4 separate regions of the Homo sapiens genome follow, and regions 1, 3 and 4 are each linked to region 2. Evidence: promoter capture Hi-C in 16 types of primary human blood cells and fetal thymus (Javierre and others, 2016). All regions are on one chromosome and are shown on one strand. Each heading gives the region's core, a stretch centred on a gene start or on the middle of the fragment in contact. The rest is flanking DNA. Distances are from core to core; before and after follow the strand shown. Region 1 has its middle 26 kb from the start of AP3M2. Region 2 holds the start of VDAC3 (voltage dependent anion channel 3). Region 3 has its middle 18 kb from the start of CHRNB3. Region 4 holds the start of KAT6A (lysine acetyltransferase 6A).

Region 1 (5,398 bases), core at 1,534-4,033, 260 kb before region 2:
TGTACAGGTTTTTGTGTAGACATATGTTTTAAATTCTCTTGGGTATATAGCTATGAGTTAAACTGGATGATTTGGTAACTCTTATGTTTAGCATTTTGAGGCATGACCAAACTATTTTCCGAAGCGCAGCTGCACCGTTTTTCATTTTCACAATGGTATATCAGGAGATAAATGTTCTTACAGCCACATCCCACCCCCCGCCCCTCCCGCCGCCAAAAAAAAAAAGCAGAGAAGGGTCCAACTGGGAAAATATATATATAATTCAAGGAAAAGAAAAAAAAGGTCTTTGGCCGGGTGCGGTGGCTCAAGTCTGTAATTCTGGCACTTTGGGAGGCTGAGGCAGGTGGATCATTTGAGGTCAGGAGTTAAAGAGCAGCCTGGATAACATAGGGTAACCCCATCTCTACTAAAAATACAAAAATTAGCCGGGCGTGGTGGCACACACCTGTTATCCCAGCTACTTGGGAGACTGAGGCAGGAGAATCATTTGAGCCCAGGAGGCAAATGTTGCAGTGAGCCAAGTTCGTGCCTCTGCACTCCAGCCTGGTCAACAGAGTGAGACTCCATCGCAAAAAAAAAAAAGAATATGAACACCATAAAACAAGCTCAAAGATGAGACAGAGGGGGAATTCAGAACTAGGAATTAACTGAGGTCCAAGTCAACATTATTATAGAATAAATAAATTAGAGGCCTGGCACAGTGATTAATGCCTGTAATCCTAGCACCTTGGGAAGCCAAGGCAGATGGATCGTTTAAGCCCAGGAGTTTGAGACCAGCCTGGGCAACATGGTGAAACCCTGTCTTCACAAAAAACACAAAAATTAGCCAGCTGTGGTGGCACACAACTGTATTCCCAGCTGCTCAGGGGGCTGAGGTGGGAGGATCACCTGAGCTTGGGAGGTTGAGGCTGCAATGAGCTGTGATTGTGCCACTGCACTCCAGCCTGGGTGACAGATTGAGACCCTGTCTCAAATAAATGAATAAATAAGAAAGAACAACAATCAGAATAAACAGCATTAATAAAGGAATGAATGACAAAGGGGAAAGGCTGGAAATAATCCTAGCAAATGTAGATGAATAAGACAAAGACAGTAAAATAACTGGGCAATCTAAAACATATGGAAGATAGATAACAATAATCCAACATATGTACAAAGAACCCAAGAAGTAGAAAGTAGTTATGTTAAACTATGTCATATAAGATGACACAACTAAAACTGAAGAAAAAACTAAATCCACAGAGTATAGAAAATACAACATAATATAACGTACCAGGAGAACTTGATAAACTCTCTTCTCCAAGACATCTTCTGTGAATTTAAAGGATAAGGAAAGAAGTCTCTAGGCATTTAGACATAAAATGAAACTACCCAAAAGAGGGACACAACAGTGCTTAAAACCCCAGGTCATAGGAGCTGTAGCTAGAAAATTCTAACCAAAAAACAAAACCTGTGACCCAAGAATTAATAGCCAGGCAAGATGTTGTTCATGAGCAAAGTCAATAAGAAGACGTTCACAGGCATGAAAAATCTCAGGTAATACAAAACCGTGAGTTCTTCTTAGGAAAAAAACAAACTGCTTAACAATGAAATCCAGATGATTTCAAGATGAATCACCACAAATGATCCAGAAATGCAGAAGCCACAGTTAAAAAACAAACAAACCAAAACCGGCTGTGAGCACAAACTCCATAAAATCCAGCTCAAGAATGACTACCTATTGGGTTATTGTTACATAGGAGCATGTGACTGATACAAACCTGGACAGTATGAGAATAGCAATATAACTAATGATACCACAGAGGGCATAAAACATGGGGGCTGGACTGGGCACGGTGGCTCACTCCTGCAATCCCAGGATCAGCTGAGGTCAGGAGTTCGAGACCATCTTGGCCAATATGGTAAAACCCCATCTCTACTAAAAATACAAAAATTAGCCAGCATGGTCTACTCAGGAGGCTGAGGCAGGAGAATCACTTGAACCTGGGAGGCGGAGGTTGCAGTGAGCCGAGATTGCGCCATTGGACTCCAGCCTGGGAGACAAGAACGAAACTCCATCTCAAAAAACAAACAAACAAAAAAATGTGGGGGCTGGGAGAGAGTAAGAGCTATGCCCTCATCTTCCAAAGCAGGAGAACACTGGCCGCTACCTGAAATGGAACTATAGAGTTTTTAAAAATAGACACTAGCTTTATTTTTCATAATCTCTAGTGTTTTTTTCTCTTCTTTCTCCCTCCCTCCTTCTCTGTCTCCAACTCTTTAAACCCAGAAGATTTTTAATAATGTATTTTATTGTGCAGAAGCATTTACTTGAAAATTCAACAGTTCCTCTAGATGTATTTCACTTTCTTTTTACTCTATCAAATGCAAATAAAATTAAATTGTATACTTTAAAAGAACATCCTATACTTAATGCTATTCTAATAAAATCTTTCTCTTCTTTTAGGGGTGTGTGTGTGTGTGTCAGCATGTGTATGCTATATCTAGAACTAATATTTCCCTAAAGGTAGTAATTGATGGGATTTGGAGTGATTTTTTTCATCTTCAAACTTCTTTATATAAACTACATTATTTAAATTATTATGAAGACTTATTGTTTGTACACATATAAAGAATATGCTTAACAGGGTTAATACTAGATAATGGTATAATTAATGATTGTTATTTTATTTGGGATGCTTTTTTGTAATTTTAAACCCATCCCCATAATATTTTTTTCATTTAAAAAAATCAAATATAAATTACATGATGTAAAATTCACCCATTTTGAAGTATACACTTTAGTGGTTTTAGTTATAGTGAACATGCTGTGCAACCATCACCACTATCGACTCTAGAACATTTTCACCACCCCAAAAGAAACCCTGTACCTATAAGTAATTAGCGGCAATTTTCTCCCCTCCCTATCCCCTAGCAACCATAAATCTACTTTCTGGTTTCCCATAAGGTAGATTTCCCATTCTGGACATTTCACATAAGTGGAATCATATAATACGTGGTCTTTGGTGCCTGTCTCCATTCACTTAGCGTAATTTTTTTGTTTGTTTGTTTTTTGAGACAGAGTCTCACTCTGTCACCCAGGCTGGAGTGCAGTGGCACAATCTCCACTCACTGCAACCTCCGCCTCCTGGATTCAAGCGATTCTCCTGTCTCAGCCTCCCGAGTATCTGGGATTATAGGAGCCCACCACCATGCCCGGCTAATTTTTATATTTTTAGTAGAGATGGGGTTTCACCATATTGGCCAGGCTGGTCTCGAACTCCTGACCTCAGGTGAACTGACTGCCTCGGCCTCCCAAAGTGCTGGGATTAGAGGCGTGAGCCACCACACCCAGCCAACTTAGCATCATGTTTTCAAGGTTCATCCTGATGTAGCATGGAGCAGCATTTCATTCCTTTTTATGACTGAATAGTAGCCCACTGCATGAATGTATCACATTTTGTTTCTCCATTCATTGGTTGATGGACATTTGGGTTGTCTCCAGTTTTGTGCTGTTGTGAATAACACTGCTGTAAACATTTGTGCACAAGTTTTTGTGTGAACGTATGTTTTCAATTCTCTTGGGCCTATACCTAAGAGTGGAATTGCTGGTTTACACAGTAATTCTTTCTTTCTTTTTCTTTTCAGTGCTCAGCCCTCTATTGGAGATTCTGCCTCCCCTGGGTCGGATGTCCCTCCCTCTGCGTCCTCGTGAGTACACTCCCACAGTGGGTGGTGTGCTGTGTGTGGGTGTGCTCTGGTGCCGGACAGGGTGTAGGGGAGGGGTCTGGCGTCCTGTCCTTTGAGAGGGGACCTTGGTGAGCTTGTGTTTATGTGAGAATGCACGTGAAGTAGTGTCAGATCCCACAACTCAAGGCCCCTTCCTCCTAGGGGGCAGCCCAGGAATGGGCAGGCCTCGGCCAAGGCCTGAGCTCTCTTGAGGAGTCTTCCCTTGGTGCCTCCAGTTCCTGCCCTTGGCCCATCTCCCCAGAAGGTGATCTTTCCTTGGAGGGGTCTGAGGCTCCCTCCCCTGGTCCTGGGGTCATGGTGGGAACACCGGCCTCAGCTCCATAGTGTGCTCCTTGCCTGGCATTCACATTTCTTGGCCCGTTTCCTCCACTGGGAGCTGGGATCCTAACCTCTCAAAGGGGGGACCCCCTGAGAGGGTCTTGCAGGGTCGTGGGCATGGAGCTGGTACAGACTGTGTGTGCGGGGAGGGGTGACTGGGACAGGGCCTGGGCGTCAGGACGACTGGGATGGCCTAGTGGTCTCTGTCCTTGGTGCCGTGTTTGAGAATGCGGGTGAACTCCACATAGTTGAAGTTGCCTTTTTTGTCAACAGGCACCTCCGGGTACAACTCGCCCACTTGCTGGTCTGTGAGGTGGTCACCGTGGCGGGCTTCCTGGATAAAACCTGAAGTTGAGGCTTCCTCATCGAAGTGTTGCAGATCACATCCTTAGGGTCCATGCGGTTCAGCTGCTCCCCAAACACAGTGAGCAGCATGGTGAAGTTGATGGGCCCCGGGGCCTCACTCATCTCACCCTCCGGCTGTTCACCATGGGGTTCTTCCCCAGCGAGGCCAGGCCTTCTTTGTCAATGAAGCCATCACAGCTCTGGGCAAACCCGTGGAAGACCTCCTTAAACTCCCAGATTGGGGCTGGTCAAACATCACGAAGACATTGGATGTGGCCCACTGTGGCTTCTCGGTGGTCTGGCCATGGCCTGCCTGCTGGACAGCTTGGCTTCAGGTGAGTGGGGCTTTCCTGGTGCAGAGAAGGCGCTGGGCTAGGTGAGTGGGGCGGGGCCAGCCATCAGGTGTGGGCTCTCATATGGTAATTCTATGTGTAACTTATTAAAGACCCACCAAACTGTTTTCTACAGCCACTGCACCATTTTACATTCCCAGAAGGCTCCAATTTCATTATTTATTTTTGTAGAGACGGCAACTTGCTCTGTCAGGCAGTGGAGCACTATCACGGCTCATTGCAGCCTCCACTTCCTGGGCTCAAGGGATCCTCCCACCTCTGCCACCTGAGTAGCTGGGACTACAGTCACGTGCCACCACACGCAGCTAATTTTTTAATTTTTAATTTTTTGTGGAGATGGGGGTCTCACTATGTTGCCCCGACTGGCCTGGAACTCCTGACCTCAAGTGAACCTCCTACCTCGGGCTCCCCAAAGTGCTGGGACTACAGGTGTGAGCTACTGGGTTGCAATTTCTTCACATCCTCACTAACAGTTTCTTCTTTCTTTTTCTCCTTCCTTCTTTTCTCTTCTCTTTTCTTTTGATTATAACCTTCTTAGTGGGTGTAAAGTGACATCTCCTTGTGGTTTTCATTGCCATTTCCCTGTTGACTGATGATTTGGGGCATCTTTTCTTCCACCTATTGGCCACTTGAATATTTTCTTCAGAGAAATG
Region 2 (4,993 bases), core at 25-2,524:
GCCCGCCTCTGCCTCCCAAAGTGCTGGGATTACAGGCTGCTTCCTTTAACCTAGAGCAGTTCACTAGCCTTTTTCCTAATCTTTCATGAAACTGACATTTTTGAAGACTGGGCAGTTGTCTTGCAGGTCTCTCAGTTTGGATTTGCCTGATTGTTTCGTCCTGAAGAGAGGCAAATTACACACTTTTACAAGAATATTATCTCTGTGTCCCTCTCTGTGCCTCACACCAGGGGCATATGTCAGTCCCTACCATCCCCCGTTTGATCAGTCTCTTTGATGTGAAGGTACCCTTTTCTCTTTAGTGAGTAATCTATGGGGGTGATACTTTGAAACCATATGAACATCCTCAACGGTCCACTGATCATTTCAGCCTGAATCAATTATTATCATGGTGGTTCCAAGACGATGATTTTCTATTTCTGTCATCTATTCTACCTTTATTAGTTGGTCTTCTCCTCTACAGAAGAGCTTTTTCTCCTCCACATCCTCTGCCCCTTTGAATTATCATCTCTCACTACTTGTGGGATCTTGAATCAATCACTTACTCCCTGGGGACCTGTGTATTCTCATCCTTAAGACGAGATGACCTAAGAGTGACACTCTTGAAGTCTGGTCAGTCTGAAATGAAATTCCCATAAGAGGCTGGGCGTGGGCTCAGGCCTGTGATCCCAGCACTCTGGTAGGCGCAGGCGGGCGGATCACTTATGCCGTGGAGTTCGAGACCAGCCTGGAAACATAGGGAGATTCCCGTCTTTACCAAAAAAAAAAAAAAAAAAAAATTAAATTAGCCGGGCGTGGTGGCGCGCTTCTGTGGACCCTCCTACTCAGGAGGCTTAGGCAGGAGGACGGCTTGAGCCCAGGAGGTCGAGGCTCCAGTGAGCCAAGATCGCGCCACTACACTCCGGCCTGCGGCATGCCTCAAACCTGGGGTCCGGCACCCTGCGGCCTTTTCGCGGCCGCACCCATGGCAACAGTTAACTAGCAACCTCGCGCATTCTCGCGAGAATGAGTCCCCTCAAGGGCACAGGTGCGGTCCCCAGCCTCTTGGGCCCCCAGTCAACCTCACTGTCCACACCGAGCCCTCCTGCGCACGCGCGCTGCGGAGCCGGACAGTTGGTGGTGCTGGCTTGGCCCGGCTGTTCGTCTCCGCGCCTTGCTCCGAAGCGCGCGACCGTGGCGCGACACGCCGGCGCACAGGCGCTCTCGGGGAGGGGCGGCGCGCAGGCGCGGCTGGGGGTGCGAGGCTGCGCAGGCGCGGACGGCGTTGGTTTGAAGACCTTCAGCGTTGCCCTGGCGGAGCAGAGACAGGCCCTCGGGGTGGAGGTGAGGAGAGCTGAGGCCGCGCGGGCTCCAGTCCCGGAGAGCGGTGGGCCGCGGCCGAGCAGAGCGCCAGGCGGGAGGCGGGCCTAACGGAGGCTCTGTGGGCAGGGAGCAGGCTACCGGGGCGCGGGGGGCCGGGGCCGCTCGCTCCCGCCGGGACCCGCCCGGGCCACCTCAGGCGATGGAGCCGCAGCACGGCGGGGCAAGTGGCCTCCGGGCGCGGGCAGCGACCTATCCCGCCGGCGTGTGGACCGCACTTTCCTCCCAGGGGTCAGCTAGAAAGGAGATCGGTTCTAGGGAAGTTGGATCCTCGAACCCCACACCCATCTCCCGCCCGCCCCTGCCCCCTCCTTACGGCCGAGGGAGGGTGCCCTGCGTGCAATTCAAAACGGAGAAGCGAGGAACGAAAAGGGCTCTGTACTGGCTGTCAAGTTAGTGGCTTTGTAAAGCAGTAGCAACCGGCTTAACGCCTTTCCCCGTCTGCGTCTCCTGCAGCCTCTGTGCAGTGTGCACATCTATGGGCAGGTGCATTCTGTAGAGCTGGTGGAGACGTGTGGTTGTAGCTTTACTCTCGAGGAACATGAAGTTTCTGTTGTTCTCGATTTTTGCTTGATCATACTAGCAGTGCATTTCCCATCAGAGTCATAGGCCTGAAAAAGTCAGCTTGAACTAGGCAGAATTGAGGTCAGTTAGTATACTAAACCAGCTACGTGACTTTTGCATAGTATCTCGTACTGGTTTTGAAAAATAACAAAACAAAATGCTGAAATATTGTAAATAGTCCCTAGACGTATATATAGTGCTTCTAAACATTTAAGTGTATCTTTTCTCGGCAGTATGAAAAACCAGACTGTAAAGCTTTAACATTTCTATTTCAATATATACTGCCTGCATTTCTATACTTACTTCCCAAATTACAGACTTCTGGCAAAATTTCAACAAATATCAACATCAGTTGTAATCATAAAGAGTAATATCAAATTGCAATTGGGATAATATAAAAAGCCTAGAATTGATCACTTTAGTACAAGGGATTGAATTGTAAAATAATCGTTCTGTAAGTGAATTATGAAACCTGGTAGCTTAGAGCAAAGTTTTACTATGGAATGAGTCAGTACATTTATACTACCGTTTCCTCTTTAATTTTTTTTTCTTTTTAGTTTTTTATACTAGTCTCTTTATATCATAGTGTCTGTCATATTTGACAGGTTTATGTTAAGGAACAAAACTTAAATGCATTCCCATTTAAGTGCATCATATGTATATGTTTGGTATGATGGGGTAGGCAGAAGCTTAGCAGAAGTCTGGATTAAGAGCTGGGCTATATATAAATAAATATGAGCTTAAATGTGTAGATCATTCAGGCGTAGCAATTGCAAGGGCTAGCTGGTACTCTGGATTTTTCTGACATATGGGCTAATGGCACTGCTAGAGGTGGCTCTGTAATTGGTTAGACATAGCTTTTGAGTCTGCGAGAGGAATACAGAAGAACCTGCTGCAGAAAGATTTCCCATGATACAAAGAGGGCAAAGGAATGAGATAATCAGCAGTGTTGATAGCTCTGAGAATTTGATATGAGGGTCATATTACCAGTAGCAAAGCTGGGCAGATTTTTAGTAGGCAAGATGAAAAATCAAGGCACCTGAGGTTTTTGAAGGCTTTAACTTCAGAGTTTACACTAACTTTTGGTAAGCAGGTTGCTGCAGGTAGAATCTGTCATATTTCTGGTTAATGGGTAAAATTATAGCACTTTAAGAAGAGCTTTGAGAGAAGATATATTCTAGATGAATACACTTCAATTCGTATGGTAAATTCTTATTTTAAGAACTGAATTTCAGAGGAGAAAAATGTTAACCCTGAGGATTTTGATTGCATCTTTTAACAGTTTCTTTAAAAATTTCCATTGTTGTCTTATACAGGTCTTTGGTTTCATAAGAGCCTGAGAGAGATTTTTCTAAGGTAAATTTTGCATATATTTTTAAAAGAAGTCCAGTTTAACATAGCATCTTTTTCATCCTGTAAGAACTTACTTTTCTTTGAAATGCAATCAGAAAGATGACCTCTGAATCTCACGGGAAAACTGTTTTATTCTCAGTATTCTGGAAAGGTCTGTTTTTTAAGGAGCAGACTGCTGTCTCATACCTTTGATTGCATTAAAGCATTAATGATACACAGGAAGAGAAAACTGTATACCCCTTCTCACAGGATTAAACAGCAGAAGAACTGTGGGTGAATAAATACTAAATGGTTATTTTTATTCCTTTGCCCTGTTTTTCTTTATAAGATATGTGTAACACACCAACGTACTGTGACCTAGGAAAGGCTGCTAAGGATGTCTTCAACAAAGGATATGGTAAGTATGCTATTGTAACTTTCCAGTTTGGGGTAAAGGTTAGTGTTGAATGCCTACTGTGTGTAAATACTGTGTTAGTAAAATAAGGGTAAGTCAGCATTATTCCACTTCACAAGATTTAAGGGGATAACTATTAACAGGCTATTAGACCTCATTCTTTAGAGGCAGAACCCCTTACAAGCATTAAAAGCAATTATATACATATACAGATGCATATACATGTCCATATTTAATGTTATCTGGAATGTAGAATAATATATATAACATTTATGTCTCTTTGTCTGGCCCTGAGGACAATTAAATTAGGGGGTAGAACTTTTCCTCCCTCCAAACAGTGGCATTGTTTTTATGAAAGTGACAACATAACTTTTGACTTCTTTGGAGTAATGTATATTCTGATCCTAAATAAATATTTTTTAGGTTTTAAAATTTAACTTAAATTTATGTGCTGTACATATTTGATTTTTTCTTATTAACTAGTAATGTTAACTATATTTTAAACGATATATATAGCAGCACACTATTTTCAGCAATTTTGATTCTTGGAATAGTGCATATTCCTTTCATTTATTTTTTTCTTTAACTTACATTTTAAAAGTATATCTTTATTCATTTTGAGTGCTTGAAAATTATACTGCATTTATTTGGTTATAATTCAGTTTCTTGAGGAACTCTCACCCAATGAAAATACTATGCATTTTTCATATGGAAGGTACTATAGGCTATTTCATAATTTCTGAGTTGCAAAAACTAGTGAATGTCACATTTTGTACATTACTGTGTTTTTGTGTGTGTGTGTGTATAGGCTTTGGCATGGTCAAGATAGACCTGAAAACCAAGTCTTGTAGTGGAGTGGTGAGTATCTAATATATTTTTAATGAATGTAACATAATTAACTTAAAGGAATCTGTTTAAAATCATGACAGTCTAGTTACTTGAACCAGCACCATGCTGTCTTCCCCACAGCTTTGTCCTCTCAGATTTTAAACAGCATTCTTAGCCAATTAAAATAAACAACCAAGTTGAATTTTTGAAGAGACCTTTTGTGTTTCTCAGAGTATACTACAGCTTTCACTCAGAAGATGTAGAATATATATTTTTTGACCCATGTCATATGTTTATACTTTCATGAATATGTATATGGGCACCAAAAACCTCACTTCCATGATAATGGGTTCATGGAAATTTTATTACCCTTTTACAAAAACAAATTAACTTTACTCTGCCCCTTCATGATTAGTCGAAACAAAATATGTAAATAAAATGTATTTCTGCACGTATGCATGTACATTATTCTACAGTTTTTAACTGATGTTTATA
Region 3 (4,688 bases), core at 983-3,482, 290 kb after region 2:
GTAACCTGTTAGAGCCTATATTAGATGGATAATGGTATCTTTTTTTACTTTAGATGGAGTCTCACTCTGTCACCCATGCTGGAGTGCAGTGGCGCAACCAGCCTGGCTCACTGCAACCTCCCCATCCCGGGTTCAAGCGATTCTCCTGCCTCAGCCTCCTGAGTAGCTGGAATTACAGGCATGCACCACCACGCCTGGCTAATTTTTGTATTTTTAATAGAGATGGGGTTTCACCATGTTAATTAGGATGGTCTCGAACTCCTGACCTCAGGTGATCTGCCCGCCTCAGCCTCCCAAAGTGCTGGGATTACAGGTGTGAGCCACCGACCCCTGCCTGGTATCATTTTTAACACCTATGTTAGTATTTAGTTTACAACTAATAAATGCATATATACATACATAATTGTGTCAATAGGTGGCATGTGGAATTGAAAACTCATTCCATGCTCCTCAAATTCCAGGTTTTGAATGTTCCTCACATCACTCATAAGGACCAAAAAGTGTGTGGGGGTGGAGAGGGGTCTCTGTGGTGGCTTCCTTATCTGCTCAGGGCTCCTGAGGTGGCTGCCCTAGGCCGATCCTTCTCTCCACTGTCGAGATCTTTGCCTCTAGCCCTTTAGGGATAGAAAACTCGACATTCCCAGTCATTGATTGGGTCCTCTGAATAACTAAAATCCATAACTCGAAAAACCCTGTCTTACCAGTGAGGAAAAGGACAACCTGGATCCCCTTTCTTTGGGGCCACCACGTTTGTTTTTGTGATGTTCACAACTCACCCTCTCCATGTTCAGTATCTGCATCCCACGTATCTGCTGGCCGCAGGCGATCTCCTGTGCTGCTGCATCAACCTATCAACCTGTCTCCCAGCAACAGAGGCCAGGACCCACAACTCCAAAGCTGTCTGCTGTTCAGGCATTTATCATACCTTGATCACTTACCCTACTATCCCAATCAATGAAATGGTGTGTTTAATCAATACCACTTATTTGTCATGGATCCATGCTGAATCTCAGTGGTAACCTTCATTTGTCTAGGAAGACTGTGTAGATTTTGTTAGGGATTGATATCCATGTGTAAGTCTCTAGTTTCTAGACTGTGTCTGCCTTTCCTTATTCAAATATTTCAGTTCAGGCCAGGCACTGTGGTTCACGCCTGTAATCCCAGCACTTTGGGAGGCTGAGGCGGGCAGATCACCTGAGGTCAGGAGTTCGAGACCAGTCTGGCCAACATAGTAAAACCCTGTCTCTACTAAAAATACAAAAATTAGCCAGGCATGGTGGCAGGCGCCTCTAATCCCAGCCACTTGGGAGGCTGAGGCAGGAGAATCACTTGAACTCGGGAGGCCGAGGTTGCAATGAGCCGAGATTGTGCCATTGCATTCCAGCCTGGGCAACAAGGGCAAAACTCTGTCTCAAAAAAAAAAAAAAAAAAAAAAATCAGTTCAGAACTGTTGGCCAGGACCCATCACCCCCGGAAACTGGAGTAAGGTAACAAATTGGCTGAAAGATTCTTTCCTTGATTTTCAATGAAATTTCTGTGGTTCTAGTCATGGCCAAAGAGAAGTAGCAGGTGGGAACATACTTGGTTATTCCTACTTCATGTTTTCTAAGAAAAATCCCTTTACTCAACCACTACACGTGAAGTTTTATACTTGCCAACTTAGTATTGCTTCAGGTAAGAACTCACAAAAATGAACTCAAACTAAAGCTTAGCACAAGCTGAAACAACAGAGAAAGGAAGTGAGTTCCTTACTTTCTGATGTTTGACACTTTCCCCAGAGAATTGAAAATCATCTCTAATAGGTCTGATGAGCTGTTTCAAAGAACACACCTCCCTGCCACTTATAAAACCTGAAAGCTACTTTCCTTAATACAGAGAGTTAACTGAGAGCCAGAGGGAAGAGCAGGGCAAAAAGTCCTGCCGGGTCATCAGCAACCCTCTCAGAATTTGTCTGTTTCCTTCCAGGATCAAATCCAGCATGCAGGTGACTACAGTCCCATCCCCCGGCGTTATCTCACAGTGGTACAGAAGGTCTGTGAGCTGCTGGAGACCCCATGAGCTGGGACAAAGGAGCCGAGGGGCAGCAAAGGCTGCTTCCCCAGCCCCACCCTCACTTCCACTCCAGTTCCCCCAGGCAGAAAAGTGAAGCCACCGGAGCCTGCTTTGTAATTCCCTACTCACTAAAGAAGCAAAAGGAAATGAAAAGTCCACAATTATCTTTCTGTCTCCCTCTATCAGCCCATAAACTTGGGTAAGGGGCACATTGTTCTTGGAATGGACTCAGAACAGAGTAGTTATAATATCAGAATGACTTTCTTTTAGGTAACCCTTAGCAATAAAGAGATACCCACACACCTTAAAAAGGTGACTAAAATCCTAAGTAGATGTATAGCAGGCTTAGATTTGCCTCATTCTCATTCAACAAAAGTTTTAAGAGATTTTCAATCCAGGTGCAGTGGTTTATGCCGGTAATCCCAGCACTTTGGGAGGCTGAGGCAGGAGGATCACTTGAGCTCAGGAGTTTGAGACCAGCCTGGCCAACAGAGTGAGACCCCCATCTCTATAAAAAAATGTAAAAATTAGCAGGTGTTGTGGTGCACACTTGTAGTCTCACCTACTAAGGAGACTGAGGTGGGAGGACTGCTTGAACCTGGGATGTCAAGGCTGTGGCGTGCTCAGCCCTGTCTGAAATAAAATAATAAAATTCTATGATTTACAGAACTGTGCTAAGGGGAGGCTCATGCACCTCACTAACTAGAAGCTTAATTTGTGCAGCTTATAGGCCCCTGCCAGGTTAGGGGTGTAATGACCAAACAAAAGAGGGCTGAAGTTTATGCTAGCAGCAAATGAACACTTAAAACACAAAAACAAAGAAAAAACTTTTATGTCAGAAAAAAACTTTAAGTCATAATTGCATCCAAACAACGTAATTGCACTCAAACAACAGCTATGTGGGGTTTTGTCTTTGTTTTTGTTTTTTGAGACAGAATCTCCCTCTGTCACTCTGGCTGGAGTGCCGTGGTGCAATCTTGGCTCACTGCCAACTCTGCCTCCTGGGTTCAAGCGATTTTCCTGCCTCAGCCTCCTGAGTAGCTGGGATTACAGGCATGCACACCATGCCAGGCTAATTTTTTGTATTTTCAGTAGAGATGGGGTTTCACCATGTTGACTAGGCCGGTCTTGAACTCTTGACCTCAAGTGATCCACCTGCCTCGGCCTCCCAAAGTGCTGGGATTACAGGTGTGAACTACCGTGCCCAGCCTCAAACAACAGCTATTTGGATAAGACAAAGTATTCCAATAGTCCTCAGCAGTCGCAAAAACAAAAACAAAAACCCAACACTTTGGATTCCCATATTATTATGCCTTATTGCTCCTTGACATCATTTGGATATTTGTCCCCACCCAGTTTTCATGCTGTGGGGCCTGCTGGGAGGTGATTGGATCATGGGGGTGGATTTCTCATGAATGGTTTAGCACCTTCCCCTTGGTGCTGTCCTTGCAATAGTGAGTGAGTTCCTGTGAGATCTGGTTGTTTAAAAGCGTGTGGCCCCGGCCGGGCGCGGTGGCTCACGCCTGTAATCCCAGCACTCTGGGAGGCTGAGGCAGGCAGATCACGAGGTCAGGAGTTCAAGACCAGCCTGGCTAACATTGTGAAACCCTGTCTCTACTAAAAATACAAAAATTAGCCGGGCATGGTGGCGCGAGCCTGTAATCCCAGTTACTTAGGAGGCTGAGGTAGACAACTGCTTGAATCCAAGAGGCAGAGGTTGCAGTGAGCCGAGATCATGCTGCTGCACTCCAGCCTGGGCAACAGAGTGAGACTCCGTCTCAAAAAAAATAAAAAGTGCGTGGCCTCTCCCCACTCGCTCTCTTGCCCCCCCTCTGCCATGTGGGATACCAGCTCCTGCTTCACCTCCTTCTTGGAGTAAAAGCCCCCTGAGGCCTTATAGGAAGCTGAACAGATGCTGGAGCCATGCTTGTACAACCCGCAGAACCCTGAGCAAATTAAACCTCTTTTCTCTATAAATCACCCAGTCTCGGGTATTTCTTTATAGCATCTCAACAGTGGCTTTACACATTCCTTCAACCAAGGTACATTTACTCTGTCATTTTGGAAAATGATGGGTGAGATTTCAGAAGCACCCAAGAACTCACCTAGAGGTCTACCCTTAAAACCTGATTGAGAATGTAGTTCATTCTGGTTCTTGGCTCAAGAAAGATCCTGGTAGTTTTAAGAAGGAAACAGCTTGCCACATGGGTAAGATGATTGTTCTATATGATGGAGGATTGGATAAGAGCAAACGAGGAAGGCACAGATATGTCAGCTGAATAAAAGAAGAAAAAGTGAAAAAGGAGAGTGCAGAAAAGCTGGAGGGTGAAAGAAATCTCCTCAAAGCATAGGTCAGGTTTCTGTTTACAAGTGCATTTTTCTCCTCTCCCCCACTCAGCTCCCATTAAAAGAGTTTTATTTATTTATTTATTATTTATTTATTTTTTTGAGATGGAGTTTCACTCTGTCGCCCAGGCTGCAGTGCAATGGGAATGGCACGATCTCGACTCACTGCAAGCTCTGCCTCCCAGGTTCAAGCGATTCTCCTGTCTCAGTCTCCTAAGTAGCTAGGATTACAGGCGCCTGCCACCACACCTGGCTAATTTTTGTATTTTTAGTAGAGACAGGGTTTCACC
Region 4 (4,899 bases), core at 363-2,862, 340 kb before region 2:
TAACTGAAGTGTTTTTTAGAACTTCTGCTCTCATTCTGGAGATCATTTGCATTACAATATAAACAATGCTAGACAAATGGCTCCCACAGCAACTATTCTTGGTAGTGACATTAAAATCAAACGGAAAACTAATACACACTAGGAAAGAGATATTACTATTAACTCTGATAGGAAAGAAAAGAGTGAAGCAAACATTCAAACCTGAGCCAAGATTTGTTTTTAAATCAGCTGCCTAAAAAGAAGCCCCCTGGGAGAATCATGCTTCAATTTGGTGAGGGTCTCAAGAGGATAGAAATCAGAGTATCATTACTCCAAGTAAGCTCATTATACAGATATTAAGTCTAAACTAAATGAGAAGCTACATCCTGAGTTTAACAAGCTGGGAACGAACGTCCTAATTGACTAAGCTTCGCAGGTAAAAGAATGAGTGACAGTCACTCATTGTCTTTCCAGTCGGGATTGTCATCAGTCTCCAGGTCTTCGGAAAGTCAAGCGCCTGCAGCCTCGGATCTTAACTCCCGGAAAGTACACGAGCGGCTAGAGCGAGCGCAACTCGCTTCCGACAGTCCTTCCCGTCCCCATTCCCCACCCCTAAACACGTCTTCGCGCTCTCTTTTCAAAGAGCGAGAAACTTTAAAAACTTGGATCTGCACAGCCCGGCAGCTCGCCGACGGGGCGCTGCACCGTTTCCACGCGATGGAAACAGACCCCGAGCACAAGTTAACAATGAAATCACGTGAAGGAGTTCAGAGCGGTGCATAGCCCCGGCCCAGCTCCGCACCCTAAGCTCTGGGGGCCGGCTCGAGGGCGGCGCGGGTTGCTGGGAGCCTGACAGTCGCGCACCGGGCCAAGCCGCGAGGTTGACAGGCGCCCGGCCTCCCCTCGGCGGCTGGGCTGACAGCCCGGCAGACACAACACCACACGTGCTGCGCCTCGCACCACAACACCCGCCGGCCTGTCAGCCCCGCTCGCCGCCTCAGCCCCGCTCGGATCCCCGCGCCCCCGGCCGGAGCCAAAGCCGGAGCCGGAACCCGAGCCCGAGCCCGAACCCGAGCGCCCGCGAGCGCGGGGAGAAGCGGCCCGGCCCGGCACAGCCGGCACGCGCGCGGCGGGCGGGTGGGCGCGCCCCGAGGGAGAGCGGGCTCGCCGGCTCCGCCAGCCCGAGGCTCCGCGGCCTGGGCCGCTCGCCGCCCGCCCACCCGCCGGCTCCCCCAGGGCGGGCCCGGCCGGCGGGATCGGGGGCGCGGGGCCCGCGAGCGCGGGGCCGGGCGGCGGCGCGCGGGCCGCGGGCCGGGGCAGCCGGGCGCCGAACAAGCGAGCAAGCGAGCGAGCGAGCGGGCGGGCGCGAGGGGGCGGCCACGGCGCCCCAGCCCGAGGCCTGGCGCAGAGCAGCGGGAGGCGGCGCAGGCCGCGGCGGGGCCTGCAGCGGCCCGCCGACCCCGCGAGGCAGCGGAGTGGGCCCTGGAGCGGCTCGGCCTCGGGCTGGGCGGCCGGGGGCGGCCGGGAACGGCCCCTCGGCTACTTACCGGGAGGAAGGACAGCCGAGATCCCGGGGCCCCGGGCCGGACCGCGGAGATGCCCCAAACTGACACGGCCGCCATCTTGGAGACAGTGAGCTCCAGCCGGGGGGAGGGGAGGCAAGGCGGCGGAACAGCCGCGGGGGGAGGGGAGCGTCGCGAGGGAACGGCGGCCTGGGGGAGGGAGCTGGAAGAGCCTGGGCGGGCGGCGAGGGGAGGCGGAGGCCCGGCAGCGCGGGTGGGGGGCGGCCGAGAGCGGGAAGAGCTGGGCCGAGAGCCGGGAAAGGCCGGAGGGCGGGGCGGGGCAGCAGGGAAGAGCCGGCCGGCGGGGTCACGTGGGGCCGGTACAAAAGGCCAAAGCCAGGGGAGGAGGAGGACTTGGTGGGGCTGGAGGCTGGGGAGCGGGGGTTCCTCCTCTCCCGTCTCACGCGTTTAAGTCAGACGGCGACCCGGGAGAGGAGGAGCTGGTGCACCCCATGCCACCGCTGGGGAAACTGAGGGCAGGAGTCTGGGTGGGGTGGCTTCAGTGTGGCACGGAAATCCGGCAGCCACGCAGGATGGGAACTCTCGGCGGCGTCTGTTTACAGTTAGTGAGCCCTCCCTCCCCACTCATTTGCCTGCACAGCGACTTTCCGGAGCCCGAGGGCGGGGCCTGGGGGGCGGAGAGGAGGCGGCTTCCCGTCCTCACCCCTGGCAGCTCGCCTCAGCCCCCGACGGCTCTCCTGTGTCGGTGGGAAGAGTTGGGGAGAGGGTGGAACCAGAAGCACCCGTCTTAACCCCTTTCAGCAGTGACTTCATTTCTTCCCTCCCCCAGCAGCTGAGAGGGTTCTTGGAGCTCACTAGAGCCATTTTATGGGAGACTCCACAGACCTGGGTCGTGTGACTTGGACAAGGTCACACAGCTAGTATGTGGCGCGCACCTGAGCCTGGGACTGAGATTTGTCTTATTCCAAAGCCGGTCTTCCCTTCTTGCCCTGTGCGGAACTCTTGTCCATACTTAGGGCGTTGGAACCACGAGCAGGCGGTTCTTCATGGCCTGCCTGTCCACTACTGGCTGTATGGACGTTTCTTTGTCTTGCCTTTCATCTACTTTAAACTCTTTGATGCAGAGACTGAGTCATACTTTTTTTTTTTTTTTTGAGACAGTGTCGCTCTGTTGCCCAGGCTGGAGTGCAAGTGGTGCGATCTTGGCTCACTGCAACCTCCGTCTCCTGGGTTCAAGCGATTCTCCTACCTCATCCTCCTGAGTAGCTGGGACTGCAGGCGCCCGCCACCACGCCTGGCTTATTTTTGTATTTTTAGTAGAGACGGGGTGTCACTATGTTGGCCAGGCCGCTGGTCTCGAACTCCTGACTTCAAGTGATCCGCCCTCTTCGGCCTCCCAAAGTGCTGGGATTACAGGCCTGAGACACTGCACCTGGCCAAGTCATGCATTTTTTTTTTTTCTGCATTCACTAGAAAGACAGTAGACATGAAAAAGACACTAAATGTTTAATCGTTGACATGGACGTGTATCCTGCTGCCTGACCTTTATCTGCCCTGTCCCCAACCCCATACGACACACCCCGCCTAGACTGTCGCCCGCAATACCTCATTTTATCTCAGCTTTAGCTTTTAAGGGCCTCCCTCTCACCCACTGCCTTAACTTCCATGCTGACTTCCTTTTCTGAACTTCTGTAGTAGTATCATTTGCTCTAGTCATTTTGCACTTACATGTGATATATATATATATATATATATATTCCGAATACATTCACTGGTAAATGCTCTCCTATAATGACTCTGCATCTCCAGCACCTAGAATAATGTTGTACAAGTACTGTAGTAGGCGGTTTAAAATAAAAAAATGTTGCTCGTGAATGAACAATTTTTTAAGCCGTTAAGAAAGCCGTTTGTGGCGGGGCGCTGCTGTAGCCCAGCTACTCGGGAGGCCTGCTTGAGCCCGGGAGTTCCAGGCTGCAGTGAACTATGATCGCCACTACACTCCAGCCTGAGAGACACAGCAAGAGGGAACCCAAACTTTTCTATCTATCCCGTCTCCACTCTAATCCATAGCCCTACCCTCCATACGGTAGACTCTGGACCATTCAGTAAGAATAACGTAACTTTTCAGATCATGGTCCAGCCTAATCAATATCCTGACACTGACAGAAACAGAAGTGTAATGTAGTGAGGTTGACTGAGTTGCCATTCATCGCCTACTTCCAAGCCCCATCTCCAAAGCAGTAGAGAAATTTGGAATACATGATAATCCAATAGAAAGGATCTCTTTCATCCTAGATGAATCAGATAGACACATTCTCAGGTAAAATGGTCCCTGTTTGTAATGAAATCACCTCCAGGAAAAAAAAAAAAAAAAAAAAAAAAAAAAATATATATATATATATATATATGTATTTTCTTTTAGTAGAATAGGCAGATTTTTATTTCCCAAAGAGGGCAGATAAAGTCATATTAATGCAAAGACAATGAGTTCTTCATGTGAGACTAGAGTGTGTGGCCTTCAGAAGAAAAATAATACAGAGATGAGTTGTGTTTACTTTTGGATAATTTGGAAGAAAACTAGCCACAGCCATCCTGTGAAAAGACCAAACTGGGGATTAAACAGTAGCAAGAATTTAAAACAATTTATAACAACAAAGCACAGTTGAGCTTTTCACACAGCTTCCATAAAGAGTCTCTGCTTTACATTTGCATAACTAAATGGCACATTCAGGAGGTCTTCTCAAAATAAAAATCTTGCAACAAAGACGGATTAAAGTCCTCATCATTTGCAAGTTAAAAAGCAATCTGCACTCTGAAAGGATAGTTTTTCTTAGCTCAAACTTTACTCACGATTCAGCCCTGTGGAGCTGGCAACTAAAGGTTATTTCCCCCTTGCATATTTTGCTCTAGGAATCCCTGCCTTTTCACTTGTACTTGGTACTTGTGTCTTATACAGAGTCCATGCCAGCCTGAAATTGGAAGTTTGCTCTGTCCTGGTTTCAACAGGAAACATTTTTAGTCCATTTACATTTAATATAATTACTGGTATATGTGGATGTATGCCTACCATCTTACCATTTATTTTGGATCACCTATTTCACATTCCTTGTTCTCTGCTTTTTGCCTTCTTTTGAATTAATTAAAATATTTTAACTATATCATTAACCCCCTCTATTAATTTTTAAATTATACATTACTAGTTTTAGAGATTACAACATTGCTTTTTGACTTATGATCTTATACAAAATAATTACTTTTACCACTTCCCCGGGAATGCTAAGACATTAAAATACTGTATCTCCACCTACCCATCTCCCTTTTGTGTTTATTGTCGTCAAGGATTTTAATTGTGTGTGTATTTTAAGCCACACAAGAATTTATACTTATTGTTCTGTAC

The links. The method cuts DNA at HindIII sites, captures the fragments that hold promoters and counts their contacts. A CHiCAGO score of 5 or more calls a contact.
Region 1: a fragment that was not itself captured here is called in contact with the fragment with the promoter of VDAC3 in region 2 in 1 of 17 cell types (naive CD8 T cells); the score reaches 5.9 in naive CD8 T cells.
Region 3: a contact is called between a fragment that was not itself captured here and the fragment with the promoter of VDAC3 in region 2, in 10 of 17 cell types (megakaryocytes, endothelial precursors, M2 macrophages and 7 more). The highest score is 7.5, in megakaryocytes.
Region 4: a contact is called between the fragment with the promoter of KAT6A here and the fragment with the promoter of VDAC3 in region 2, in 9 of 17 cell types (activated CD4 T cells, total CD8 T cells, naive B cells and 6 more). The highest score is 7.4, in activated CD4 T cells.

Annotation. Positions count from the first base shown.
Region 1 is chr8:42,124,534-42,129,931 of GRCh38, forward strand. It overlaps the pseudogene LOC101059972. Among named protein-coding and RNA genes, the nearest start is that of AP3M2, 26 kb to the right of the region's middle. The HindIII fragment of the contact is 9,989 bases long and covers 1-5,398 here.
Region 2 is chr8:42,390,606-42,395,598 of GRCh38, forward strand. It overlaps VDAC3 (voltage dependent anion channel 3), which reads left to right and starts at 1,275. Exons shown (of 10, transcript NM_005662.7): 1 at 1,275-1,323; 2 at 3,240-3,279; 3 at 3,605-3,673; 4 at 4,479-4,528. The coding sequence starts at 3,607. It also overlaps a transcript of DKK4 not described here. RefSeq lists enhancers at 779-1,279, 1,280-1,780 and a silencer at 1,022-1,551. The HindIII fragment of the contact is 9,991 bases long and covers 1-2,176 here.
Region 3 is chr8:42,676,576-42,681,263 of GRCh38, forward strand. No RefSeq gene overlaps it. Among named protein-coding and RNA genes, the nearest start is that of CHRNB3, 18 kb to the right of the region's middle. The HindIII fragment of the contact is 1,054 bases long and covers 1,706-2,759 here.
Region 4 is chr8:42,050,375-42,055,273 of GRCh38, forward strand. KAT6A (lysine acetyltransferase 6A) reads right to left here and starts at 1,613. Exons shown (of 17, transcript NM_006766.5): 1 at 1,527-1,613. It overlaps KAT6A-AS1 (KAT6A antisense RNA 1), which reads left to right and starts at 1,376. Exons shown (of 2, transcript NR_136589.1): 1 at 1,376-1,611. RefSeq lists silencers at 707-1,176, 1,277-1,906, 2,097-2,256, 4,217-4,511 and enhancers at 1,705-2,226, 2,227-2,747. The HindIII fragment of the contact is 5,822 bases long and covers 406-4,899 here.